Linked DNA regions of Homo sapiens: all the other regions are linked to region 5. Evidence: promoter capture Hi-C in 16 types of primary human blood cells and fetal thymus (Javierre and others, 2016). All regions are on one chromosome and are shown on one strand. The core of a region is centred on a gene start or on the middle of the fragment in contact, and the rest is flanking DNA. Distances in the headings are between cores, read along the strand shown. Region 1 holds the start of TBK1 (TANK binding kinase 1). Region 2 holds the start of GNS (glucosamine (N-acetyl)-6-sulfatase). Region 3 has its middle 59 kb from the start of GNS. Region 4 overlaps RASSF3 (Ras association domain family member 3). Region 5 holds the start of HELB (DNA helicase B). Region 6 has its middle 37 kb from the start of RASSF3-DT.

Region 1 (4,416 bases), core at 43-2,542, 1.9 Mb before region 5:
AATCTTAATGCTAATGTTAATTGCTTCCCAGTTGGTTGACCTTATAAGAAAACACTGTGTGGTATTTTAATGTGGTAAACATGTGAATGAAGGCCTGTGGCTCAGTTAATCACTCCCACAACTTTGAGCTGTGAGTTTTACTGGTGGAAGGAACTTTAACAGGTCTTCGCTCTTGTCATTAGATATCAAAGAACTGAAATTAGTTGGAATTGTAAGCAGTGAATAGATGTGTTGTTAGAATGATTCCATCACTTATACATTGTTTAAAATGCTAATAAAGTAACTTGCTTTGTAAGAATTCATTAGAGTGGACTTTTGTTATCTCCATTGTGCATTTGATAAAACTGAGGCTTAGAGAGGTAAGAGATTAGCTTTTAAGTCAGTAATTGGCAGCCGAGACAGCAACCCTAGGTCTGTTACATTCAAAAGCCTCTGAGCCACTCCGCATGACTTCCCATTCATTCGTGTTTGCTGCTGCTACTCTGGGAAACACCATCTTCCTCTTCCCCTCCACTCAGAAATTTAGCCCTAGATTAGCAGCGGTCTCTGCTCCCTCATGTTGAGAAAGGCCTGTTGTGCTGTCCGTGGGCAGAAGGGACCCCTTCAGAAAGCTATTCCTTATTGGGAATAGCGGCTTGAGATTTTGACTGCACGAATATTGCAGGACCTAATTTTAGTATTTAAGTTTTAGTTCTTAAATTCTTAAGTTTAGAGTTAGATACTCCAATACGGCCGTTTTCCAAAATACCGAGAGGGAATTAAATGAACATTTTTACATTAAGAATTTAATGTATTTCTGGGTGATGGGAAAATGAAAAAAACAATGTAAAGTCTGAATTACTGCGAGACGATAATCTGGCTCCACTGCAGCCAAAGTGGGCCCTTAAAACATAGAATCCATCCCTCCCAGCTCTGCCGGCCGTCTGTGCCTGCCCCCCACGTGTCCCACGTTCTGCACACCTGTAAATCTTGGGATGTAATCCCTTGCTCAGCGTCGGTCCGCCCTACTGTCGGCCAGCGCTCGGGGAAGGGGCGGGATTTGCAGTTGCGGGAATCCCAATTACTGTGTTCGCTGCTCAGGGCTCCTCATTCCCCTTTAGAGTAAAGGGCGAGGGCAACAGTGGACGGGGTGTCTCCAGACATCCCCCTCATTACCGTGGCCGCGGAAGCCGACTCGGCAGTTGCCGCCGCGGCTGTGGTGACTACCAGACGGGCCATAGGCGTGCGCACGCGCACCCGCACCGGCGCGCCGGCCGTCGGTCACGTGGCCTCCGGCCAGGGCTTGCGAAGCCGGAAGTGTCCTGAGTCTCGAGGAGGCCGCGGGAGCCCGCCGGCGGTGGCGCGGCGGAGACCCGGCTGGGTAAGTGAGACGGCCGCGGGCTGAGGGGCCAAGGCGGCGCGGGGCGCGGTCGGTCAGGCCTGCGCCGCCCGGCGGGGAGCGCTCCCGCCCCCTGTGGGAGGCTGGGATGCTGAGTCAGAGCGGGGGCGGGGGCGGGCGCACCGAGAAGCCCCGGACGACCCGAGGCCAAGCCATCCAGGACCCCGGCTGCGTGGACACTGCCTCTGGGGTGTGTGTCGGGTGGCCGTAGCCGGTGGAATGGTCGCGCGGGCCCTGTTACCTGCATCCCCGCTCCGCGCCGCGCGGCCGGTCCTCGACCTGCATCCCGTCCGGCGGCTTTGGGCATAAAGAGGACGACTCCGTTACCGGGCCTGGGCCCTGGCTGCCTGGGGAGGCAGGGGCACCTCTTTCCCTTAGACTCGCTGTTTTCTACCCTCTTTCCGAGCGTCGACACAACGGGCAGTTTTTAAATGTATTGATTTTTCAGAGGATTAAAAAGAGACGTTTCCTTAGAGTTTTAGTGATGTTCAGTCCGCAGAGGTTGACTCACACCGGAAATTAGAAGCATAAGATGTTTTAAATATATGCCGATGAAATACGAATTCCCAGACATTTCCTTGCTCCTCGTCTACCTGGCTTATGGGTTTAATTTGTAATCTCTATCCCAAGTATTCTTAGTAGGTGGCCTCAAAACAACTCCCAAGTAATTGCCAAATGTATAACCAAAGACTGGTCTTTTCCACTCTGAAACCCCAGTGTATGAATCACATAGGGGCAGAGTTTAGAAATCCTGGAACTTTGTCCATAGGCCATGTCGTCAAACCTGTTTTCATCCCTCAACAAATAGTAACTTTCGTTTTGGACGGTGTAAGGAAGTAGGCTGAAGACGGCATCATCAGCAACATAGTTGTTGAGTGTCTGCTTATATGCTTGTCAAAAATTTGGGAAGATTTATATGGCAAGCACGTTGTGGGTGTGCTGAGTCATGTTTTAACATGTTATTGTGGAGTTATTGGAAGATAATTTCAAAAGACATTTCCCCTGACCACTATTGTGATTACTGTTAAATAGAAACCATAGTTTTGTATTTGCATAGAGAACAGATATCTTAGCTGATAAATATTTTTCTTATTATCCTGAAGGTACATACATATAGGTACCTAATGGTACTATTTGCCATTTACAGTTACATTGATTAGGGAAGGTTTTTCGTTAGATAGTTGAGACGTTTGTTATTGTATCGTGAGTGAAATGTAATGACTGGCAAATGTGTATTCCTTATTTGTGAAAAGGGAATCTTATTTTTATTGCTTATTTCCTATAGTCGTATATAAAGTTTATCTAAATTAGATGGGTAGTAAAATTATATAAAAATATCCTACTATATCAGTGATTGGTAAAATTGAGACCCCTGACCATTCTGCATTTTCCTAACCCAGCTTGGGGATATTGGTGGTCATTAATTCATCACAGAATACCTAGTCTAGCATACTACTTTTTGCTTTAACTTACTGTGGAGGGATATTAAAATCCATGTTTTAATGACAATACAGCAGGTTTAAGGGGGCATGGTGGGACTAGTGTTTATGTTATGTTAGCATACATCAATTTTAGTCCAGTGTGGAGCTTGGATACTTTGTATACCTTGATAGATCCATAGCTTTTCAGTATTAAAGACTTGATAATACAGGCTACTTGGTACGTTTATATATTTATACTTGGAGGTTGGAGAAACTATCCTTAAATTAATTCCAGAAGAGTTCGTAACTTTTCAGGAATAATAATTTTTGCACCTTTCCTTTATGTTTGTCAGGTTCTGTGTAGATTGTGTAGATAAAATTTTAGCTTATGGGAATATTATGCAGTGACAACATTTGTCTTCATTAGTGTTTCTCTGCTCTGAAGGAAACAAAGTAATTTTTCCTATATTTGTTATATTTTACATTATTACTTTTCTTTATTTTAAAACACCTTAAATTATGTCATAAATTAATCTTTCAAAACATTTGAAGGAGGTAAGTAACAATATCACTCTCATCAACAAAGACAAAATTAGAAGAGAAATAGGTGTTGTTTTTGTTTGTTTTTGTTTCTTTTTGAGATGGAGTCTCGCTCTGTCACCCTGGCTGGAGTGCAGTGGTGCGATCTCAGCTCACTGCAACCTCTGCCTCCTGGTTTCAAGCAATTCTTCTGCCTCAGCCTCCCGAGTAGCTGGGATTACAGGCATGCGCCACCACGCCTGGCTAATTTTTTTGTATTTTTAGTAGAGGCGGGGTTTCTCCATATTGGCCAGGCTGGTCTCGAACTCCTGACCTTGTGATCCGCCCGCCTCGGCCTCCCAGAGTGCTGGGATTACAGGCATGGGCCACTGCACCCGGCTGAGAAATAGATGTTTCTTTCAGCCCTGTGTTAAGTGAATTAAATTGAATGTATGTCATTGGTTAATGTTTTTTTTTTCAAAGCTCATACAGCATTTTAGCCTTGAATATTGCTAGAAACTCAGATCTTTTTTTTTTTTTTTTTTTTTTGAGACGGAGTCTCGCTGTGTCACCCAGCCTGGAGTGCAGTGGCGCGATCTCGGCTCACTGCAAGCTCCGCCTCCCGGGTTCCCGCCATTCTCCTGCGTCAGCCTCCCGAGTAGCTGGGTCTACAGGCGCCCGCCACCATGCCCGGCTAATTTTTTTGTATTTTTAGTAGAGACGGGGTTTCACCATGTTATCCAGGATGGTCTCAATCTCCTGACCTCGTGATCCGCCCGCCTCGGCCTCCCAAAGTGCTGGGATTACAGGCGTGAGCCACCGCGCCCGGCCAATTTTTTTTTTTTCTTTTTTTTTTTTTTGCGATGGAGTCTTGCTCTGTCACCCAGGCTGGAATAGGGTGGCACGATTTCAGCTCACTGCAGCCTCTGCTTCCGGGTTGAAGTTATTCTCCTGTTGCAGCCTCCCGAGTAGCTGGGATACAGGCACCTGCCACCATACCTGGCTAATTTTTGTATTTTTTGTGGAGACGGGGTTTTGCCGTGTTAGCCAAGGTGGTCTCAAACTCCTGGCTTCAGGTGATCTGCCTGCCTCGGCCTC
Region 2 (4,754 bases), core at 490-2,989, 1.5 Mb before region 5:
TCGGGAAGAAAGAGAGATAGATAATGATTACCTTTATCAAGTGTAACACACACACTCACACACATGGACCTTTTCTATTCTATTCTATTCCAGAGGAAATAAAAAATGTTGGTAGTTACTCACTAAACTGATTTCATAACTCACTCAAGGGTTGGGACCAGAGGTTTGAAGGACACTGAGCTAGGGTGTGTAACTACACAAGAAAAGTTAGGAACGTCTTGCCTGGAGTATTTCATAGTCTCAGCATTCAGCTGAAAGCAAAAAGAGAACTGAAACGAAGAAAGCAATAAAGCATTTGGTTTTAAAGCGAAGAGAGGAATGCTGAACCCAGGGTCAGAGGACTCTGCCTCAACTACTCATGTCTTGGGCAAGTTGCTTTCTGGGCCTCCATGGGGAAGGGGTTGGAGTGGATGTTTCCAAAGGTCACACATTCCATAATTCTGCAATACACAAGCAAAATTTACTCTGGAAAAAAAATGAAGTCTTGTGACAACACCCATTAGATAGAAAATGAAACACTGACAGTCTCTAATGCAACAGTCAGGTGTTCAATCACACTAATTGAATTTTCTTGATTCTTGTGAGGCAACACACACCCTCAATAGTTCGACGGTCGGCCTACCAGATTAGTTCACTTCAGGCCTTTTTTTTTTTTTTTTTTTTTTTTTTTTTTTGGAGACGGAGTCTCGCTCTGTCGCCAGGCTGGAATGCAGTGGCGCGATCTCGGCTCACTGCAACTGCTGCCTCCCGGGTTCAAGCGATTCTCCTTCCTCAGCCTCCCAAGTAGCTGGGACTACAGCTGCGCGCCACCACGCCCAGCTAGAATTATTGTATTTCTAGTAGAGACGGGGTTTCACCATGTTGGCCAGGATGGTCTCGATCTCTTGACCTTCTGATCCGCCCGCCTCGGCCTCCCAAAGTGCTGGGATTACATGAGTGACACACCGCGCCCGGCCCAGGCTTATTTTTATTGACATCAGATACAGACATTGTATACAGGCACAAACGTGGAGGTGGTCTAGGTCCCTCATAAAGGGGACTGGACTTGTCTGTGATCCTCTAATCCAAAAGAAAAACAATCAGGCCTTGAGTGCTCTTAGACAGCACCTGATCCTCATTGGTTCAACCCATCCTCCACTGGTCTCCACATGTTTATCTTGAGATATTAACGTAAACTCCACAGCAGTACGGTCCAGACTAGAAGCTCTGTGTGCTGTACGCATGTGCCTCAATCCAGAAAGGAAAAGAGTATTGCAGTCCCTTACACCGGCATAAAGGGCCTCAGGTGGGAAAACCAAACCTACCCAAGGATAAGACAGCCAGTTCGGGGAGGAGGGTGGTGGGGACCGGGAAAGAGAGCAACAAACCGGGTAGTCAGCCCAAGAGATAGAGGGGCGGGGCAGAAACAGAAGAGTTACCATGCCGCCGAGCACTTCGTCCTGGTCGTCCGTGAGGAGCAGCACCACGTTGGGCCTCCGGGTTCCCGCAGCCACCCCGAAGACCCCCAGGCAGCCGCCCAGCACCAGCAGTAGCAGCGCTGGGCTGCAGGAGGGCAGGTGGCGGGGGCTGCCCCGCCGGAGCCGACCTGGGGCTAGAGGCAGGAGCCGCATAGCGGACAGGCTCCGGGGTGACCCCGGGACGGGACGGGACGGAGGGACGCACAGGTAGCTGAAGGGCGAGAGGCCGACCAGCCGAAGGAATAAAAAGCCGTGCCTTGAAGGCCGGTGGCTGGAGTCAGACGTTTTCTCCCTAGGCGCGATCACGTGAGCCAGGGACAGGGGGCGGAGCACGCTGCGCGGTCACGTGACGGCCGGCGTGGGCGGGGCTGCGGACTGGCGCAGCCTGGAGGGAGGCATCAGGCAGTGGCGGAAAAGGGGCGGAGAACCGGAGAAAAGGGCGGAGAACCGGAGAAAAGGGCGGAGAACCGGAGAAAAGGGCGGAGAACCGGGAAAAGGGCGGAGAACCGGGAAAAGGTCAAGACCTGTACGTACCTCTCGCGCAGGCTCGGGTTGCGTTCTGGTAGGACGTACGTGTTTCTGAGCGCTTGGTGGAAAGATTTAAATGGGGGGAAGAGAAGATGAAAAGCAGGAAAGAGTTGGCAAATACTAACCAACCGATAAAGGAAGAGAAAGGAGGACTGTACATAACAGAAATTATCATCAGCTGGTGAGGAAAGTGGACTCTACCATATTTAATCCCCAAGTCGACGGGCACTTATTCAAGGCCCGGATGTTTAATCGTTTTTAATTTTCTCTACAACTTGTGAGATAAATCTTAACATTCTCATTTGGCTCAGACATTAAATTCGGAACTGGTTAGCTCTCTTAACTCCAAAGCCTAATTATGTTCTTCTTTCCTCAGCAGACATCGTAGTTTCAAACAATTTAGGGATGTCCTGACAGCTTTATCCTAATGGTTATCCTAATGGTCCTTGGTGACTTTTTAAACACCCTCTTGGAACATGTTGGAGGATGTGCAGATCGAACAAAAATCTTGAAACGTGGTCATCCAACTGCATTATTAAGTAATCTTTAGCGGGGAATAGCCCTTGAAACTAGCTCCAGATATTTCTGTGGTCGCTCTGGAATAATTAGACTTTGCCCCTCTCCTCTCACCGCCCACCGTGGGCGCGGTGGCTCACGCTTGTAATCCCAGCACTTTGGGAGGCGGGTGGATCACCTGAGGTCAGGAGTTTTAGACCAGCCTGGCCAACGTGGGGAAACCCCGTCTCTACTAAAATACAAAAATTAGCTGGGCGTGGTGGCAGGCGCCTGTAATCCCAGCTACTCGGGAGGCTGAGGCATGAGAATCGCTTGAACCCGGGAGGCGGAGCTTGCAGTGAGCCACTGCACTCTGGCCTCAGGGACAGAGCGAGACTCTTGTCTCAAAACAAACAAACAAACAAAAAATCACAGAGATATTCCTGGCAAGGTGAACTGTCAAGTCACATCCCCAGACCGATATAACAAGGTATACCTCCTTGCTGGTAAAAGTATTTTCTCTGAGTTGAACTGTTTGCCAAGAAGAGTCTCTTAAAACTCGTGAAAACTATTCCAGAACTTAAAGTATTAAAAAAAAAAACTCGTGAAAACACTATACTATAAGGTAAAAATAATGATGGAAACACGTTGAAACCTGATGTGTACAAGGATAGGGCTTATGCAAAAAAAAAAAAATTACCTTTATTACTTTGTTTTTTTCACACAGAGGGGTAATGCGCGGAGTCCTAACAAGGTTTGAGGTAGGGGTGGTAACTCACACAATAGCATGAAAACCCAATCATCAGGCTTATGAACCACAAAAGGATCTTAATACTTTTTTTTTTTAAGTAAGCCTACAGAAGGCAAAAGAAGCTTTAAAAAAACTGAAGTAGTTTTTCTGCAAGAAACAATTATGCCGGAAGTGTGGTCAGAGCAGTTCCTAGACAACCAGAATACTTGGTTACAGCCTTGGCCTAGGCCAATTTTTCAAGCTGGTTAGAATAACTAATCCTTCTGTATTCAGGTTTCAAGACTTCCAGGAAGACTTTCTTGCACAAAAAAATAACCTATTTCATCTGTATCGAAGCCCCAAATTGTAAAATTGTTTCTTTTCTATTTTTTTCAAGGTTAGATTATAAACTATTTGAGGCCAGAAATTGTGTAATTAGTTGCCCACTTTGTTCAGGATGCTGCTGTCAGAGGCGATTGAACCAGAGCAACTCCATCTTGAAAAGGGGCTGAGTAAAATAAGCCTGAGGCCTGCTATGCTGCATTCCCAGATGGTTATGCATTCTAAGTCACAGGATGAGATAGGAGGTCATAAAGATACAAGATACAAGATGCATGTCATAAAGACCTTACTGATGAAACAGGTAGCAGTAAAGAAGCCGACTAAAACCCACCAAAACCAAGATGGTGATGAAAGTGACCTCTGGTCGTCCTCACTGCTAAATTCCCACCCAGCGCCATGACAGTTTACAAACGCCATGGGAATGTCAGGAAGGTACCCTCTCTGGTCTAAAAAGGGGAGGCATGAATAATCCATCCCTTGTTTAGCATATCATCAAGAAATAACCATAAAAATGGGCAACGAGTAGCCCTCGGGCTGCTCTGCCTATGGAGTAGCCATTCTTTTATTCCTCTACTTTCTTAATAAACTTTCTTTCACTTTACTCTATGGTCTTGTCCTGAATTCTTCCTTGCTCGAGATCCAAGAACCCTTTCTTGATGTCTGGATCAGGACCCCTTTCCGGTAACACTGCTACACTAGTGCTGAAGAGACATTGTCCCTCGTTCATGGAATTTGCAGTCTAATGGCAGAGAGATGGACAATCTAATCTTGTATCTTGTATATGATTACAAATAGACATGCTATGAAGGAAAAGTAAAGGGTGCAATGAGCATTTAAGGTGGTGGGAGGCTGATTTAGTCTAAGGTGCCCTGAGGAAGTGATCTTTGAGTGAAATCTGAAGTTTGAGTAGGAGATAATTTGTTAATGGAGTATTGGGGTGGTGGAATGTCTCCTAAGCACAGAGTACAGCATATGCAAAGGTTCTGAGCTGGTGCATTGCAATAACTAAAAGAAGCCAGTGTGGTTAGAGCAGAGGGAGAGAGGTGGTGAGGACCCAGATCCTATTTTAAGGACTTGGGTTTTTATAGTAAGGCTAATTGGAAATTACTGAAAGAATGTAAGATAAATATAATCATACATGAACTTTTAGAAGATCCTTTAGACTGTGGCATGAAGAACAGATTGGAAGAGGACAAGCATGG
Region 3 (4,249 bases), core at 565-3,064, 1.6 Mb before region 5:
TTTTTTTTTGAGATAGAGTTTCACTCTGTCTCCCAGGCTGGAGTGCAGTGGCACGATCTGGGCTCACTGCAACCTCTACCTCCTAGGTTCAAGCAATTGTCCTGCCTCAGCCTCTGGAGTAGATGGGATTACAGGCGTGTGCCACCACACCTGGCTAATTTTTGTATTTTTAGTAAAGACGGGGTTTCACCCTGTTGGCCAAGGTGGTCTCAAACTCCTGACCTCAGGTAATCTGCCGGCCTTGGCCTCCCAGAGTGCTGGGATTACAGGTGTGAGCCACCGTGCCTGGCTCACATGAATATTTATTGAAACAACAGTTATCAGTTGGTGACAAATTCGGAGACACTGTCAGATAACGCTAATTAGGTATTTTGTTTTATTGAAAGAAGGGGGCTGGGCGCGGTGGCTCATGCCTGTAATCCCAGCATTTTGGGAGGCCGAGGTGGGCAGATCATGAGGTCAGGAGTTTGAGACCAGCCTGACCAAACATGGTGAAACCCCGTTTCTACTAAAAATACAAAAATTAGCTGGGCGTGGTGGCGCACACCTGTAATCCCAGCTACTCAGGAGGCTGAGGCAGGAGAATTGCTTGAGCCAGGGAGGCGGAGGTTGCAGTGAGCCGAGATCGCCCCATTGCACTTAGCCTGGGCGACAAAGTGAAACTCCGTCTCAAAAAAAAAAAAAAAGAAAAGGGGCCAGGCACAGTGGCTCATGCCTGTAATCCCAGCACTCTGGGAGGCCAAGGCGGGCTGATCTCTTGAGGCCAGGAGTTCAAGACCAGGTTGGCCAACATGGCAAAACCTCTTCTCTGCTAAAAATATAAAAATTAGCCAGGCGTGGTGGCACACGACTGCTGTCTCAGCTACTCAAGAGGCTGAGGCAGGAGAATTGCTTGAACCCGGGAGGCGGGGTTCAAGCCCCGTGATTGCGCCACTGTACTCCAGTGAGCCGTGAGTACTGCAGTGAGCCATGATTGCGCCACTGTACTCCAGCCTGGGCAACAGAGCAAGACTCTATCTCAAAAAAAAAAAAAAAAAAAAAAAGGGTGGTGGTGAAGGTCTACACTATAGTAGCCAATGCCAACAAAGTGCTTACCATGTGCTAGGCATTCTTCTGAAATGCTTAATATGTATCAACTCATTGACTCTCCTGTGACGTTATCACACTATTTCGTCATATCCCTTTTTTCACAAATGTGGAAATGGACATGTTGAGGTTTAGCAGCTTGCTCAAGGCCACTGTGTGAGTGAGTGGCAGAGCCGGACACTGCCCCGTTTCTCTACCATCTTTTCCTGTAAGTGCTCTCTAGTTTCTCAGTTAAATTGCCTATTGAGTAAAGGAGCAAAAGTCTGTTAAATTGCCGTAATGGACAGTTTGCCCAGAAGCGTAACTGTTTTGGTGCCATTGGGGTTTGTTGATATCAGTGTGTTCTCATCCATTTTGGTTCATTTATCATTTCATTCAGGTGATTATACTAAGTCACATAGAATGAAATGCTGACCTGTGCTTTCTTTTTATTTTTTCGGATGGGGTTTCACCTTGTCATCCAGGCTGGAATGTAGTGGCGTGATTACGGCTCACTGCAGCCTTAACCTCCTGGGCTTAAGAGATCCTCCCATCTCAGCCTCTCAAGTAGCTGGGACAACAGGTGCCTGCCACCACATCCAGCTAATTTTTTTTCATTTTTGTAAAGATGGAGTCAGGCTATATTACCCACGCTGGTCTCAAACTCCTGGGCTTAAGTGATCCTCCTGCTTTGGCCTCCTAAAGGGCTGGGATTACAACCACCATGCCCAGCCCAGACCTGTATTTTCATTTAGAGGTTCTGTTGCATGGGGGAAATAACACGGCAGGTAACCAAACTTAGTGGTCTCACTGTAGTTGGTAAGACAATTCTCCTGGAACCACCAGAAGAACAGCTTCAGTACTACAGAGTGCTATAGGAGCCACAAAACTTGTGCAAAGGTTTGACTCATGGAACCATTCCCCCAAACAAGGCTCATCCTCTGCAGAGAGAAACTAGGAGGTAAGTATTCAAAGTCTAAAGCATATGCTTGTGTGGTGTGAATCACTACTTGCTTAATTGAATGTTCAAGAAAGAAGTTTTATATAAGGATAAAGGTGGGGGGGCAGGTGTGGTGAAGGCTGGAATAGGAGGGAGTGGGGACTAGCTGGGTTATATACCAACAACTCTGAAGCTAAATCATTTATTCCATCTTCAGGCTTGGATCTGGGTTTGGGTTTTTGTTTTTTGTCTTTTGGGGTTTTTTTGCCTGTTGGTTTTGGTTTCATTTTGTTTTGTTTTTTGACAAGTCTTTCCCTATTCCAGGAGATGAGAATAGCAGGGTACAGGATAGACCCCTTTGATCTTAAATAGTGTTTCCAAAGGATGATTGTGGTTCTCACGTGTCTGGCTGAGGCTGCATTTGGCATCAAGTGAACTCTGAAAGCTCCTCTCTTCTTCTTGTTTCTGAGAAATGTGAGCACCTTTAAGTATTATTTACGCACAAACAACAAAACATCAGGGCTCTTTGTAAACCTCAAAAGAAATTGGGATTTGACTTTGTTTTGGGGAGGGAGTTATTTCAATCAGGAGAGTTCATTTTTTTCTCTTTCTAAACGAGGAGTTCCGATTACAATGGGCCTGGGTCATTAAGGGCATCTATCTGGTTTGTGTTTGCTGGCATATGTACTGCCGGCTGTTGAGCCACGCTTTGTGGACACGTGGGATTCATTAAGCCCTCTGTGGTTCCTGTCTCTGAAGTGGCTTTCTAGGGAGGCTCTGCTCTACAGGGTTTTTCCATTTACAGGTGCAATAAAATTTGTTTAAATTCTAAAAATTCTGAAGCAGCAAACTTTAGTGCCTTGCCAAAACTTAGAATTCTTGAATTACTGCTGTTGCAGGCAGGGAGGCAACAGCTTAAATTCAAACCTTTTACTCAGAACTATAAATGGTGTCTTCAGATTCTTTTAAAGATGGTGAACATTTCAAACATTTTTCTTGCATATGTGATCTTTGCAAGGAAAACATTCATAGTCAATTTTGTTTAGGTCAGATTGAGTATTTCGAGGCCTTATTAATAAAAGATGCTTGACTGAGCAGGTAAGGCCAACCATAGAAACTGAGGAACAAAAAGACCAGCTTTCAGAAAACTTCCAGTTCTTTTTTTTTTTTTTTCTGAGACAGAGTCTCACTCTTGCGCCCAGGCTGGAGTGCAGTGGCTCGGTCTTGGCTCACTGCAGCCTGCGCCTCCCAAGTTCAAGCGATTCTCCTGACTCAACCTCCCAAGTAGCTGGGATTACAGGCACCCACCACCACGCCCAGCTAATTTTTGTATTTTTAGTAGAGACAGGGTTTCACCATGTTGGCCAGGCTGGTCTTGAACTGCTAACTTCAGGTGATCCACCCGCCTCGGCCTCCCAAAGTGCTGCGATTACAGAGGTGAGCCACTGTGCCCAGCCATCAGAAAACTTCCAGTTCTATCGCCTTTATCTAGATACAGTTTGTATAGGAGTTTGTGTGTGCTGGGGAAGGAAGTGGGCTTTAAGGGTGTAGTGGTGTTGGGGAGGCCAGAAATAATGTCCCCTTTATCATGGAAAGTTATTTGTTATGAAGGTGGTAGTTAGGAAAAGGCAACGTTTAGGATCTTTCGGAAGATATTTCAAGACAAAATGAGGTTACCACACTATTTCTTCACAGACTGCCTTCGGAACTGTGGAAGGTGCTGAATTTTGTTTTTTCGAGGTAGGTCTTGCTCTGTTACACAGTAGCATGATCATAGCTCACTGAAGCCTCTAGTTTCTAGGCTCAAGCAATCATCCCACCTCAGCCTCCCAAGTAGCTGGGACTAGAGGGGCATGCCACCATGCCCAGCAAATTTTTTAATTTTTTTGTAGAGATGAGGTCTGGCTATGTTGCCCAGGCTGGTCTCGAAATCCTGGCCTCATGATCTTTCTGTCTTGACCTCTCAAGACACTAGGATTATAGGTGTAAGCCACTGCCCAGGCTGATTTTTTAAAGGCAGATTTTTCTGTTCATTGACTCTGAAGCTACTTAATCTGAATCTCTGGTACTGGCCCCTGAGAATCTGCCATTTTAATAAGTGCCCCCTATTTTTTCAAATGCTGACTGCAAATCCTAGAGCTCTACAGAGGGTTTCTGGGGCTGAAGGGATACATCATTGTGCACAGAGTATTTCCCTCATACCCCTTGTTTTGAAATTTTAAATAAATTACTTCCAAATTGAGA
Region 4 (4,887 bases), core at 2,213-4,712, 1.6 Mb before region 5:
CAAGGGGAGAGCTTTAATTCAAAACTGCTTTATGGAGGAAGTACAGGTTTTCCTCTAAGCTGCACTGTTATAGATCTGTAGAAGTTTTAAATCCATGTAATGCTCATCAGTTTTTAGTTTAGTATTTAGCTGTCTGTGATGATAAGTAAATAATTTACCTTTTTGAAGGCCTGTGATATACTGTGTCTTCATTGCTTCATTTAAGAGGATGCAACATCAGGATTTTCAAAAATACACATAACGAAGTGTTGTGTAATCGTCTGTACATGGTTTCTTTGATAAGAGAGAGGCAGGAATCTGCGTAAAGCAGGTGTACAGACATAGTTTGCCCATGAGACAGCAAGAAGAGCCCTGATGTCCTAAAGGAGAGCCCTCTCCTGAAATGCATAACATACATATATATTTTTTTTTCCTTTTTTTCAAAAAATAGAGACAGGGTCTCAGTATGTTGCCCAGGCTGTCTCAAACTCCTGGCCTTAAGTGATCCTCCTGCCTCGGCCTCCCAAATTATTGGGATTACAGGTGTGAACCACCATGCCTGGTCTTGAAATGCATATCTTAGTCACTGTTACTTCTTTTAAATTGTTTTAATTGTATAAGATAAAAACCAAAACAAACAAAAAAAATGCTACCATTTCAGGAGCATACATCTAGTCTTAAAAATATCATAAATTTGGGCCGGGTGCAGTAGCTCACGCCTGTAATTCCAGCACTTTGGGAGGCCGAGGCGGGCGGATCACGTGAGGTCAGGAGTTCGAGACCAGCCTGGCTAACATGGTGAAACCCTGTCTCTACTAAAAATATGAAAATTAGCCGGGCGTGATTGTGGGTGCCTGTAATCCTGGCTACTTGGGAGGCTAAGGCAGGAAAATTGCTTAAACCCAGGAGATGGAGGTTGCAGTGAGCTGACACAGTGCCACTGTACTCCAGCTTGGGCAACAGAGTGAGACTTTGTCTCAGAAAAAAAAAAAAAAAAAATTATAAATCCTTTTTATTCCCCTAACTTGGATCTCAGGTTAATTGGGATATGCCTAATAACAAAATTTCTGAACATGAGGTTTACTAGAAAGAATTATTTTTTAGATTATTTGTGATATATGTATATATGCATTTGATAGTAGTGGATGTGTTTATTGGACTCTTAAGTACTTGCTATGTACTGTGGGACATGTAGGAGTATATGAATATTTGTCAGCTAGATTATAAAGCTTAAAAACATATTATTGGGCAGGAGTGGGCTATGGGGCTGTGACTACTAGTGGGCCTGGGGTTTCTTTGTGGGTTGATGAAAATAGAGATGGTTGTGCAACTTTGTGAATATAGTAAAACCATTTAATTGTATACTTATGGGTGAATTTTATGTTATGTGAGTTATATCTCAGTGATGCTTAAAAAATGCTGTTAATGAATTTGCAGTGCTGAAAAGATTCCAAAGTTGTGATTCTCTACCTTTTTCTGTTCTCCAGATCTCCCAAAGCAGTTGCAGTGAAAGATAAAGAACATCAAACACTCTTATCTTCTGGTGGTGGGGAAATGCTGAGTGGCCCTGACTTTGTGCAGTGAAAGTTGTTTACACAAGCCTGAGTCTATAAACTCAGAGATAAAAAAAATCACACCAGGCTGAAGCCCCATCAGGCAAAAACCTACCAGAGAAATGGGCCTGCCCGTCTGATGGAATATCTGGGATTTCCTGATGTTGGTCCCTTAATTTGTGGACCATTTTAGGCTGTCATTAAAGTAGCAGTCTAAAGTAAGAGAAAAATTCTGACATGGAATAATGTGGATGAATCTTGAGGACATTACATGAAATAAGCCAGTCACTAAAAGGACAAATACTGTATGATTACAATTGCATGAAGTGCCTAGAGTAGCCACATTCATAGAGACAAAGTAGAATGGTAGTCACAGGGAAATAGGGAGTCAGTGTTTAATAGTATAGTTTCTTTTTTTTTTTTTTTTCAGACAGAGTCTTACTCTGTCGCCCAGGCTGGAGTGCAATGGTGCTATCTTGGCTCACTACAGCCTCCATCAACCAGGTTCAAGCGATTTTCTCCTGCCTCAACCTCCCTTGTAGCTGGGACTACAGGCCCACGCCACCACGTCTGGCTAATTTTTGTATTTTTAGTAGAGTTGGGGTTTCGCCACGTGGGCCAGGATGGTCTCGAACTCCTGACCTCAAGTGATCTGCCCACCCGCAAAGTGCTGGGATTACAGGGGTGAGCCACCACGCTGGGCGATACAGAGTTTCAGCTGGGGAAGGTGAAAAAGTTCTGGAGATGGATGGTAGTGATGGTTCCACAATATTGTGAATGAACTCAGTGTCAAATAACTATATACTGAAAAATGATTCAAATGGTAAATTTTATGTTGTGTTTAATCACAATAAAGTAAATTTTTAAAAAGTAAGAGTAGTAAAATCACTTTGATGAAAAGAAAGGGTGGGACCAGGGTATTTGGATTGTCTACCAGGCCAGGCACCCTTTTCAGTGGTCTTGCCTCTGTGCCTGCCTTCTGAGTGTGAGGAGGATGATGAGGATGCCCAGGGCAGGTCTCTGCCTGCTCCCTTCGTTCTGGTCCTTCCACCAGTCACCCATGGAGCATCTCTTGTGTTTCAGAAATGCCAGTGCCTTGGCACAGGAGCAGGATAAAACTGTGCCCCCAAGGCACTTTTAATCCAGAGGAAGGTTGGCAAAGATACATTTGCTTGAAAAATATTGTCAGGGCCAGGTGTGTTGGTTCACACCTATAATCCTAGCACTTCCCAGTACTTTGGGAGGCTGAGGCAGGAGGATCACTTGAGCTCAAGGAGTTCAAGACCAGCCTGGGCGAGACCTCATCTCTACAAAACTTCAAAAAAAATTAGCCAGACATGGTGGTGCAGGCTGAGGTGGGAGGATCATTTTAGCCCAGGAAGTTGAGGCTGCAGTGAGCGTTGATTGTGCCACTGCACTCCAGCCTGGGTGACAGAGCGAGACCCTGTCTCTAAAAAATAAATAAATTGTCAGGTTGCGTTATGCTCCCCTGTGGTAGAAGTGTGGGTGGTGTTATTTAGGTAGTACTTGGAGAGTGCCCGTCAGATGTCTGGAAACCTAATTTAAAGTAGTAAAATCAACACGTGGGTGAGACTTGATACCCACAGACATATTTTTTTTTAAAGCTAGAGTGTCTCTAAAAGAATGAGACTTGTTTATAGCCTAAAAATTCTCCATGGAATGAAGATCCTCCTGGTGCCAAAGGAACTGTGTGCTTTTGGTGAGGAGCCCATCAGCATGAGGTTTTCCACTGACTACGGTTTCCCAAGGCAACTTAAGAGACATAGTCAAGGCCTTAAGGAATTGATGGGCCAGCCATGGAGGAGACTCAAATACAAACACAATGTTTTTGCGCTTTGTAAGCATGGTTATGGAGCACTGTCTAAACTAGTGAAAGTAAATTTAATAAGAAGGAATTACGGCAGGCACAGTGGCTCATGCCTGTAACCCCAGCACTTTGGAAGGCTGAGGCGGGCGGATCGCTTGAGGCTGAGAGTTCAAGACCAGCCTGGACAACATAGTGAAACCCTGTCTCTACTAAAAATACAAAATTATCCAAGTATGGTGGCATACACCTGTAGCCCTAGCCACTTGGGAGGCTGAGGCATGAGAATTGCTTGAACCCAGGAAGTGGAGGTTGCAGTGAACTGAAAGTGAAACTCTATCTCAAAAAGAAGAATGAATTATGCTGGGCATGATGGCTCACGCCTGTAATCCCAACACTTTGGGAGGCTGAGGCAGGAGGATCACTTGAGCTCAAGGAATTTAAGACCAGCTTGGGCAACATAGCGAGACCCCTGTCTCTACAGAAAATAAAAAATTAGCCAGGTGTGGTGATGTACACCTGTAGTCCCAGCTACTCAGGAAGCAGAGGCAGGAGGATATCTTGAGCCCAAGAGTTTATTAAGGCTGCAGTGAACCATGATTGTGCCACTGCACTCCAGCCTGAGCAACAGAAAAAAGAACAAATTGTGGAAGAGACATGTTAAAGTCCAGTGGGTCAGTGACCAAGAGCCCAGAGACTCTAGTTTCAAACATACACATTCCATGGTCCTGCCTGTGTTTTTAGACAGATCATTCTCAGAGGCAGCCTTCATCTGTTAAATAAATTCTTTACTTGGTGGGAGGAGGTGAGAGAGAGGTGGAGTCAGAGGTGAAGTGTGGGGATAAGGATGTGATATTTTTAGCACAGTTTGAGATATAAAGTAATTTCCTGATAAGATTATTCTTCTCCTAAATGGAACCTGTACTGTCCTCATTCTCTTACTAATGACAAGGTCAGAGCAAACCGACAAACATGGAAGAACAGGGTTCCTAGCCCTGGTGGTGAATTCCGAGGCGGTCTGAGCATACTCCAAAAAGTTGGCTTTAGGATACAGAGGGGTCCATTTTTGTGGACTGCTTTATTTTGGTTCAAGGGTTGTCTGTGAATTTTACAATAAATCAGAGTCTTTGTTTTCCTATTGCTGAGGGAGGGGAGGGAGAGGTTTGCAACAGTCTATTAATAGAATATAGCATAATTTGAAAGGAAATGTAGAAAAATCAAATGCTAATAATAATAATATTGCTGGGCATGGTGGCTCATGCCTGTAATCCCAGCACTTTGGGAGGCTGAGGTGGGCAGATCTCTTGAGATCAGGAGTTTGAGACCATCCTGGCCAACATGGTGAAACCCCATCTCTACTAATAATACAAAAATTAGCTGGATGTGGTGGTGCATGCCTGTAATCCCAGCTAGTCGGGAGGCTGAGGCAGGAGAATCACTCGAACCTGGGAAGCGGAGGTTGCAGTGAGCTGAGATGGCGCCACTACACTCCAGCCTGGGTGACAAAGCGAGACTTCATCTAATACGTGT
Region 5 (4,314 bases), core at 532-3,031:
TGTACCAAAAAAAAAAAAAAAAAAAAGGGAGGAGGAGTTGAACACCTGTGCTGTGTAGTGGCTCACATCTGTAATCCTAGCACCTTGGTAGACTGAGGCAGGAGGATCACTTGACTTTAGGAGTTCAAGACCAGCTTGAGCAACACAATGAGACCTTGTCCCCCCACCCCCCAAAAAAAAAGAGAGAAAGAAAAAAAAGTTTAACATCTAGAGATCTAGAGTTGATTCTTGTGCCCAAGTCATCATGTTGGTAACAAGAATATCCCATGTATATACTCATAAGTGACCCAGATTTGGGAAGCCAATGATAAGTTGCAGTTTAGATATGCTGAGTCTTAAGTAGCCAAGGGGCATCCAGTAGTGACTGACAGTGTTTAGGCAGTTGTTTGTATGGTTTGGAGATCAGATTAGGCTGAGTCATTAGCATGTAGGTGAAGGATGATTGAGGAAAGGATTATAGAGCAAGAAGATGCTTGGGATGGAGCCTTGGGGAATAACAGTACTTACAGGCAAGCAGAGGGGTCCAAGACTGTAAATAGCCAGAAAGGAGAAAAATCTGAGAAGGCAAGCTGCAAAAGCCCCGGCAGCAGAATGCTACAAGAAGAAAATACTTATCAGTATCAAATACTGCTGAGAGGTCAGGTAAAACAAAGGCTGAAAAGTATCCACTGGTTTTTGAAACGAAGAGGACAGTAAGTGTGACATTTGTCAGAGGAGATTCAATGTTGTGGTGGAAACAGTAGCCATGTGAATGTCAAAGGAATTCAACCTCATATAGCCAATCCTTGGAAACACTGGTGTTTTGTCAGCTGCAACAGTATTTCTTTTAAAAGCAACAAAAGTGGGCATTTTTCAATTGGTACCCAAAGGAAAAGAAATCAATTTTTATATTTTCTCCTATACATTTTTCTTAAATATTTGGTGCTAGTTGTCGTTTATATATATTTAAATATAGCATCAGGTGCTTTTGGATTTAGTAAATAGTGTGTGTTTAGTTATTTCAGGAATAATCCCAAAATAAACAGTATCAATACAGTAATGTAGTAATATATTTATGGTATTTCTTAAATAGTACCAAGACTTTCAAGTACCATCCTCATCAAGTAAGAGAATCATAGCCCCATAATAGTTTTTAAAACCACGTTCCTTTCTCTTCTATTTCCCTTCTCCTATTCCTGTCTATACTCTGGGCTGCAAAGAGACACTTTTGCCCCACTGTCAGCAGGTAGCAGCCCAGCTTAAATAAGTTTGGGAGACCAGGGTGTACTCACAGAGGAAAGGATAAAAATAACTTTGAATGTTATCTAATCCAGTGGTGTCCAAACCTAGCTGAGCATCAAAATGGACAGCCCGGAATGTACATTAAAAAGACAGAATTCTAGGTCCCTGCCCTAGATCCGATTCCAGAAGGGCATCTGCTATACTTTCGTTTTGGGAAGGTTGGGGTGGGGGTTGCTTTTCCAGGTTCTTCAAGCTCAGCAGAAGTGGACTTTCTCCCCGTTCTCTCTCCGCAGGAGATGCCGTGCACTGGCGGTTCTGCAGGTGCCACGCCTGTCACTCCCCAGCGCTGATTTCGTCCCAGCACCTTCCTGATAATCACCGCCCAGCACCAGGCTCCAAAAGGAGCGGAAGCCCCGCCCATCTCCCAGCCCCTCGCTCTCCCTTCCCCGCCCCTAACCCGCCTTGCCCCGCCCCTTCCACATGCCCTCCCCTCGGCAATTCCTGGAAACTTGGGGCGGAGCTTCGCTGCCTTTCAGGTTTTATGTACGCTGGCGGCCGCCAGGCCGTTCCCGGAAGTTGATGGCCTTACAGTCGTAGAACTGATTGGCTGATCATGACCATGCAGTTAGCCAGGGTTTTCCCGAGTTGTTTGGGTTGAGTTCAGGAGAAGCATGGCCAGGTCGAGTCCGTACCTGCGCCAACTTCAGGGACCTCTGCTCCCACCCAGGGATCTGGTGGAGGAGGACGACGACTACCTAAACGACGACGTGGAGGAGGATGAAGAGTCCGTGTTCATCGACGCCGAGGAGCTCTGCAGTGGGGGCGTAAAGGCTGGCAGCCTCCCCGGGTGCCTCCGCGGTGAGGAAGGCGTCTGCCCGGGGGATGGGGTTGGAGGGTCCAAAGTAGCGCTTCCCATTCTGGCTTTGCCCTGAGCAAGGCACCCAGTCGTGCTAACAGATTTAGCTTATCAGTGGTCTAGCTGCTTCATCCTACCAAGGGTAAAATTATGACTATAATAATAGCAGTGACTTTAACTGGACACATACTATGTGGTTTTTTTTTTTTTTTCTTTTTTTGAGCAGCAGCAAGATTTATTGCAAAGAGCGAAAGAACAAAGCTTCTACAGTGTGGAAGGGGACCCGAGCGGGTTGCCCTTTTTTTTTTTTTTTTTTTTTAAAATTATTCTCATTTTAATGGTCGTCCTTTAATTTAATGTACCTTTAATGTAAGGTAGTTTTACGCTTAAGGAAACAGTGGATGTTGAGTCTCTATTTCCACCCAGAATCGGAACTTTTATTTTTCCTTCTGACCACTTATCCTCAAGTTCTATAGAATGAGAACTTGTAATTATTATCCTATATTGCCTGGAGTCAAATACGTGGTTCTTCCTCAGCTTCTTGGAAAAACAAAACAGTCCGGGCGCGGTGGCTCACGCACTTTGGGAGGCCGAGGCAGGTGGATCACTTGAGGTCAGGAGTTCGAGACCAGCCTGACCAACATGGTGAAACCTGTCTCTAGTAAAACAACAACAACAACAACAAAACTACAAAATTAGCCGGGCGTGATGTCGCACACCTGTAATCCTAGCTACTTGGGAGGCCGAGGCAGGAGAATTGCTTGAACCCAGGAGGTGGGGGTTGCAGTGAGCTGAGATCACACCATTGCACTCCGGCCTGGGCAACAAGAATGAAACTCCATCTCAAAAAACGAAAAGGAAAGAAAAGAAAAAGAAAAACGAAACACAAGGAACACCTCAGTGCACAGATGATTGTTAATTGGTGTTAGTAACCTTGTGGTTCGGGTAAACCTTGTATAAGTAGTTTCCTGTGCTATGAGGTAGTTTCCTGTGCTATAAGTTATACCTGTTATGTATACTTTGTGACTGAGACTTAAAATATTTTAATGTGCCGACCGGTGCTGTTCAGTAGAACTTTCCATGATCATGGCAGTGTTTTATATCTGCACTGTCTGGTATAATAGCCACTAGCCATATGTAGCTGTTTAGAACTTGAAATCCAGCTAGTGTAACTGAGGAGAGAAATTTTAAGTTTTATTACATTTTAATTTAAATAGCCACGTGGGTGGACAGCGCAGATTTAGGCAGAAAAGTTTCAAGTATTTGTGGAGGGCTTAGTCGTCATTCTAAAGTATCATCAACTGGCTAGCATGTTTGGTGCTGGGAAAACCTAGAGAAATAAAATAACAAGGTTGCAGTCTTAATGAAGCTTACCCTCTAGTGTATTAAACAAACATTCTTTAATCACAGAAGTAACTATAATGTTACTAAATGCTTAGAAGGAATGCTAAATAGTGCTTTGAGAGGTTTTATACATGAGATTCAGGGAAGACTTTTCTAAGTAAGTGATAGTTAAGCTGAGGTCTGTAGTAAATGTAGTAAACAGTAAAGGGGAGATCAGTTAAGGCAGATGGAATAACTTGAGTGAAGGGCCATGGCATTTTAAAGAAACTGCATGAAGGCCAGTATTGGCTGAAGTCAAGAGTAGCAGAGAGGGGACTGATTTTAGAAGAGGAACAGCAGACACCTGCTGTGTACTGTGCTTGCGTTTTGGAATACAAAGACAAACGAAACAGTGTCCTGTTTTAGTATTTACAGTGTAGTGGAGGGAGACAGAAAAAGAGGTAGGCAGAATGCAGTGTTACAGGCACCCTACCAGACATCTTTAGAGAGTGCTGTAGGGAGATTAAAGATAGTGGTAAGTTTGATGAAACTTTGAGGAAACGGTTTCTAAATAATCTCCAGAGTTAACTTTTGTGGGTTTTTGTTTGTTTTTTTTTAGTTTCTATTTGTGATGAAAACACACAAGAGACATGTAAAGTGTTTGGACGTTTTCCGATAACAGGTGCTTGGTGGAGAGTGAAGGTACAAGTAAAGCCTGTGGTGGGATCAAGGAGCTATCAATATCAAGTTCAAGGATTTCCGTCTTACTTTTTGCAGTCTGATATGTCACCACCAAATCAAAAACATATCTGTGCTCTCTTTCTTAAAGAGTGTGAGGTCTCCAGTGATGATGTTAATAAATTTTTAACATGGGTAAAGGAGGTATCAAACTACAAAAACCTAAACTTTGAAAA
Region 6 (4,629 bases), core at 1,246-3,745, 1.7 Mb before region 5:
ACTTAAAAATACATCTTTAAGCTGGGCGCAGTGGCTCACGCCTGTAATCCCAGCACTTTGGGAGGCCGGGGCGGGCAGATCACTTGAGATTGGGAGTTCAAGATCAGCCTGACCAACATGAAGAAACCTTGTTTCTACTAAAAATACAAAATTAGCCAGGCATGGTGGCGCATGCCTGTAATCCCAGCTACTTGGGAGGCTGAGGCAGGAGAACTGCTTGAACCGGGGAGGCGGAGATTGCAGTGAGCCGAGGCCGTGCCACTGCACTCCAGCCTGGGCAGCAAGAGTGAAACTCTGTCTCAAAACAACAACAACAACAAAAACATCTTTAGGGGACAAACAGCCCACTAAAAATATCGGGTCTGCCTATAATGTATTTGACTTTCTTCTCCTCACCCCTTAAGCTTGTGAACAACTGTGGCTCACTCTACCTTCCGCCTTGGCTGTTTCAGATTTGACCTTGGCTCACTCAGACTTTGGCCTATAAAGTTCACAAGCTTTAGAGCATAGATTTCTGGATGTACTATTTTCTTTTGAAACCTGAACCCCAAACCAAGGGTGTGTCTTTGTAAATGACTGATTTAATTAAAAAATGGGCCGATGCTGATTATACAGATTTCTTCTCTTGGAATGCTTATTTTGGTGCTGTCCTAAAACTGATGTTTTGCAGCTGATGGATTAGGAGGACAGATGTTTTCGCTTGGCCTTCTCTCCTTTATATTTCTCATCTGGGCATCATAATAATAATATCAAGGGACAAACAGAGCTGAACTCAACACCAACACTTGACCTCATTTCTGATTTATGAATTCTCCCTGTGACCACGCAATTTGAGGAGAAGGCTGCCTCTGAAATGTGTTTTGCATTTTAATATTTTTTCATACTAGCCTCCTTCTTTGTCAAGCCACTGTGTGTGCAGCTGGCTTAACTTGCTGACTAGAAAATTGAAATATACTTCTATCCAGCAGCCAAAAACAAAGGGAAAAATTGTCTTTCTAAGAGCTGTTTAGCTGCCTGCGTTTCCCCCACCCCATCCCTCCTATCGTATATGAACAATACCCAAAAGAATCGAAGCTGCTTTTGGATTAATGTCAGTTGCAGCATTTCTCACGAGCTTTTTGGGTAGCACTGAAAACATGAGGGTTCTGTCATCTCAGCGTGGCTCCGTGAAGTGTCCTACCCTGCTCCAGAGGACGAACTGGAGACACTTCTTAACCTTGGGGGACTCAAGTCATCTGGCAAGCCAGATTTTTGGATAAAAAGTGTCTAAAGGCCAGACGCAGTGGCTCATGCCTGTAATCCTAGAACTTTGGGAGGCCGAGATGGGTGGACCACCTGAGGTCAGGAGTTCAAGACTAGCCTGGCCAACATGGTGAAACCCCATCTCTACTAAAAATACAAAAATCAGCCGGGTGTGGTCGCGGGCGCCTGTAATCCAGCTACTTGGGAGGCTGAGGCAGGAGAATTGCTTGGGAGGTGGAGGTTACAGAGAGCCGAGATCGCGCCATTACACTCCAACCTGGGCAACAAGAGCAAAACTCCATCTCAAAAAAATAAAAATAAAAATAAAAACAAAAATAAAAGAATGATAGTTTGTCTCCAAGCTTGCCCAGGTTGGTGCATTATAATGACACACTGCAGATGCCAGGCCCTGCGATCCTTAGACAAAGAAGAGGGGCTGTCGCTTTTTCAGGACATGGACTTCAGAGAATCATGAGGCTACCTGGCCACAGGAAACGAGAACATGATCCTCAAACCCACACCAGTGAGCACAATCAGGAAGCCTTGTTATGACCTGGCAGCAAAGGAGAAAGTGGGTTCAGTGACATCTGTCTGGAGATGTGCTGGGCTGGGCTGAGGCTTCAGCACACATAAGCTTCCTGATCATTCAGCATTCTCCTTTGTACTTTTTTTTCTTTAAGACACCTGTGTTTTTTGGCTGCCATGGGGGTGGGAGGAAGCCAAGCTTGGCAGCCTCTTCTGATCTGGTGTTAACAGCACCATACAGTAATTTCCAGCAATTATCTCCCTATCGTAAAAGTTCTGCAGAGAGATTCGTGACACTTTTTTTTTGTGCTGTTCCAATGCATACATTTAAATGGGGAACAAATTCTGTCCATATGGTGTCTCCTCTCTCTTCCCAGGTTCCCAAGTGCTTGGCCATGCCCAGCTATGAGTTGCTGCATACACAAAGTAAGGCTTGCTGGTATAGACAGTGGGGACAAGCAGTGATTTTGGGATTCTGCTGGTGCCAGAATCACTTACTTTATTCTCTTCTTTCTGATAGCTGGAGGACAAAGGGCCTTCCACCAATCCTAGAATTCATAGGTTATGACGTTCATAAGCTACTCCTTACCTGGGATTAGACCTAGTTACCTGGTTAATTCCTCCCATGGCTTCATGAACTTTGCCTTCATGGCACTGATCACAGTTTGTAATTGTAGACTTGTGTGTGTGTGTGTGTGTGATTATTTATGTCTTCTTATTAGACTATGCTATGAGCTGAATCGTGTTCCCCCAAAATTTATATGTTGAAACCCTAACACCTAATGTAGATAATTCGGGAGAGAAATCTTTGGGAGACAATTCGATTTAGATGAGCCCATGAGGCTGGGGACCTTCATGATAGGATTAGTGCCCTTGTAAGATGAGACACCAGAGAGCTTGCTGTCACTGGCATGCTCTGTCTCCCTCTTTGTCTGCCATATAAAGACACAGTGAGAAGGTAGCCTTCTGCAAGCCAGGAGGAAAGCCCTCACCAGAACTTGACCATGCTGGTACCCTGATCTTGGACTTTCAGCCTACAGAGCTGGGAGGCAATAACTTTCTGTTGTTTAAGCCATCAGTGTATGGTATTTTGTTATGGCAGCCTGAGCAGATGAATACAGACAGTAAATTTTATGAGAACACAAGCCACATCTGTTCTGCACATCACTGAACCCCAGCACCAAGCACAGAGCTCGGCATATGATAGGGCCCAATAAATATTTACTAAATTAATGAAAGAGTGAATAAATGTACGAACGAAGCTTGAAGAAATCACAGAAAGTAAGTCTAGTGTCTTTACTTAATAGATGAAGAAACAGAGGTTACATTTCCAACTTGTCCAAGTCTATGAAGCTTGTTTTTTTGTTTCACATATATAAAGACAGATTGAATGTGTCAATTCCAAACCATTAATTGAACATCTATTTTTGTTATGTTAGAGAATTCAAAGGTCGATAAAATGCAATTTCTTTTTAAAATTTTTTCAAGGGACAGTGTTTCCTTCTGTCACCTAGGCTGGTCTCAAACTCCTGACCTCAAGTGATCCTCTTGCCTCGGCCTCCCAAAGCACTGGGATTATAAGCATGAACCACTGTACCCAGCCCAAAATGCAATTCCTATTTTTAAAAAGCTTTCTTCTTGCCAGGTATGGTGGCTCGTGCCTGTAATTTTACCACTTTGGAAGGATGAGGTGGGAGGATCACTTGAGACCAGTTTGAGCAACTTAGTGAGACCCAGTTGCTGGGCATGGTGTCATGCCTCTGTAGTCCTAGTTGAGGCTGAGGTGGGAGGATCACTAGAGCCTGGGAGGTCAAGGCTGCAGTGAGCTGTTATCACACCACTGCACTCCAGCCTGGGTGACAGAGTGAGAACCTGTCTTAAAAACAAACAAACAAAAACACTTTTCATCTAAACAGCAGTTTAGGCAGTTAAGATAAACAGTAGTGATTATTCATTAAGTGCTTACTAATACATTATTTTATTTCATGTTTACAACAATCCAATGGAATAGATCATATTATCCCCATTTAACAAATATGAAAAGGCAAACTCAGAGGTAGTGTTGCTAAATTGTATTAAGCTTTTACTAGGTGCCACAATTGTTCTACATGTTTTACCTCCATTTATAAATTCATTTAATGCCCCAGGCTTGACTAGGGAAGGATCCACTTCCAAACTCAGTCATGTGTATTTATTGGTCTCAGGTCCCATTGGCTGTTGGACAGAGACAGTTCCTTGCTATTTGGGCCTCTCCAAAGCAGCCTTCACAACATGGCAGCTTGCTTTCCCTGGAGGAAGGGCTGAGAAAGATTGAAGTTTAAATCTTTGTAACCTAACCTCAGCAATGACTTTTCATATCACCATGGCCATTTTCTATTCATTAGAAGCAAGTCACTAGATCCAGCCCCCACTCAAAAGTAAGGATTAGACAGGGTGTCAACAGCAGGAGTCAGGGATCACAGATCACCCCACAGGCTGCCCACCACAGCAAGGTTACTTTAATAATTCAAAATCAATCTATGTAATGTGTCATATTAATAGTACAAAGGAGAAAAATATGATCACCTCAATAGATTAAAAAAATATTTGGGCCAGGCACAGTGGCTTACTCCTGTAATCCTAGCAGTTTGGGAGGCCGAGGTGGGCGGATCACTTGAGGTCAGGAGTTCAAGACCAACCTGGCCAACATGGTGAAAGCCTGCCTCTACTAAAAAAAAAAAAATACAAAAATTAGCCGGGTGTGATGGCTGGGGCTTGTAGTCCCAGCTACTCAGGAGCCTGAGGCAGGAGAATGGCTTGAACCTGGGAGACGGAGGTTGCAGTGAGCCAAGATCATGCTGTTGCACTCCAGCCTGGGCGACA

The links. Contacts are between HindIII fragments. The CHiCAGO score rates a contact against its expected background, and 5 or more counts as called.
Region 1: the fragment with the promoter of TBK1 here is called in contact with the fragment with the promoter of HELB in region 5 in 3 of 17 cell types (total CD4 T cells, total CD8 T cells and activated CD4 T cells); the score reaches 8.3 in total CD4 T cells.
Region 2: the fragment with the promoter of GNS here is called in contact with the fragment with the promoter of HELB in region 5 in 3 of 17 cell types (activated CD4 T cells, total B cells and non-activated CD4 T cells); the score reaches 5.9 in activated CD4 T cells.
Region 3: a contact is called between a fragment that was not itself captured here and the fragment with the promoter of HELB in region 5, in 1 of 17 cell types (non-activated CD4 T cells). The highest score is 5.7, in non-activated CD4 T cells.
Region 4: a fragment that was not itself captured here is called in contact with the fragment with the promoter of HELB in region 5 in 1 of 17 cell types (activated CD4 T cells); the score reaches 5.6 in activated CD4 T cells.
Region 6: a fragment that was not itself captured here is called in contact with the fragment with the promoter of HELB in region 5 in 1 of 17 cell types (neutrophils); the score reaches 6.4 in neutrophils.

The regions. Positions count from the first base shown.
Region 1 is chr12:64,450,828-64,455,243 of GRCh38, forward strand. It overlaps TBK1 (TANK binding kinase 1), which reads left to right and starts at 1,293. Exons shown (of 21, transcript NM_013254.4): 1 at 1,293-1,360. It overlaps XPOT (exportin for tRNA), which reads left to right. Exons shown (of 25, transcript NM_007235.6): 25 at 1-298. RefSeq lists a silencer at 1,164-1,633. The HindIII fragment of the contact is 9,573 bases long and covers 1-4,416 here.
Region 2 is chr12:64,757,667-64,762,420 of GRCh38, forward strand. GNS (glucosamine (N-acetyl)-6-sulfatase) reads right to left here and starts at 1,740. Exons shown (of 14, transcript NM_002076.4): 1 at 1,419-1,740. The coding sequence starts at 1,610. LOC124903113 (small nucleolar RNA U13) reads right to left here and starts at 3,307; the gene lies at 3,202-3,307. It also overlaps a transcript of TBC1D30 not described here. RefSeq lists an enhancer at 286-1,166. The HindIII fragment of the contact is 13,978 bases long and covers 1-3,351 here.
Region 3 is chr12:64,698,757-64,703,005 of GRCh38, forward strand. No RefSeq gene overlaps it. Among named protein-coding and RNA genes, the nearest start is that of GNS, 59 kb to the right of the region's middle. The HindIII fragment of the contact is 6,460 bases long and covers 1-4,249 here.
Region 4 is chr12:64,655,069-64,659,955 of GRCh38, forward strand. All of the region lies in intron 1 of RASSF3 (Ras association domain family member 3), which reads left to right. Among named protein-coding and RNA genes, the nearest start is that of MIR548Z, 35 kb to the left of the region's middle. The HindIII fragment of the contact is 4,513 bases long and covers 1,207-4,887 here.
Region 5 is chr12:66,300,712-66,305,025 of GRCh38, forward strand. It overlaps HELB (DNA helicase B), which reads left to right and starts at 1,782. Exons shown (of 13, transcript NM_001370285.1): 1 at 1,782-2,079; 2 at 4,020-4,314. The coding sequence starts at 1,893. RefSeq lists enhancers at 1,852-1,901, 1,962-2,041, 2,673-2,772, 2,803-3,112. The HindIII fragment of the contact is 5,857 bases long and covers 1-2,336 here.
Region 6 is chr12:64,569,665-64,574,293 of GRCh38, forward strand. It overlaps a transcript of RASSF3 not described here. Among named protein-coding and RNA genes, the nearest start is that of RASSF3-DT, 37 kb to the right of the region's middle. The HindIII fragment of the contact is 1,063 bases long and covers 1,965-3,027 here.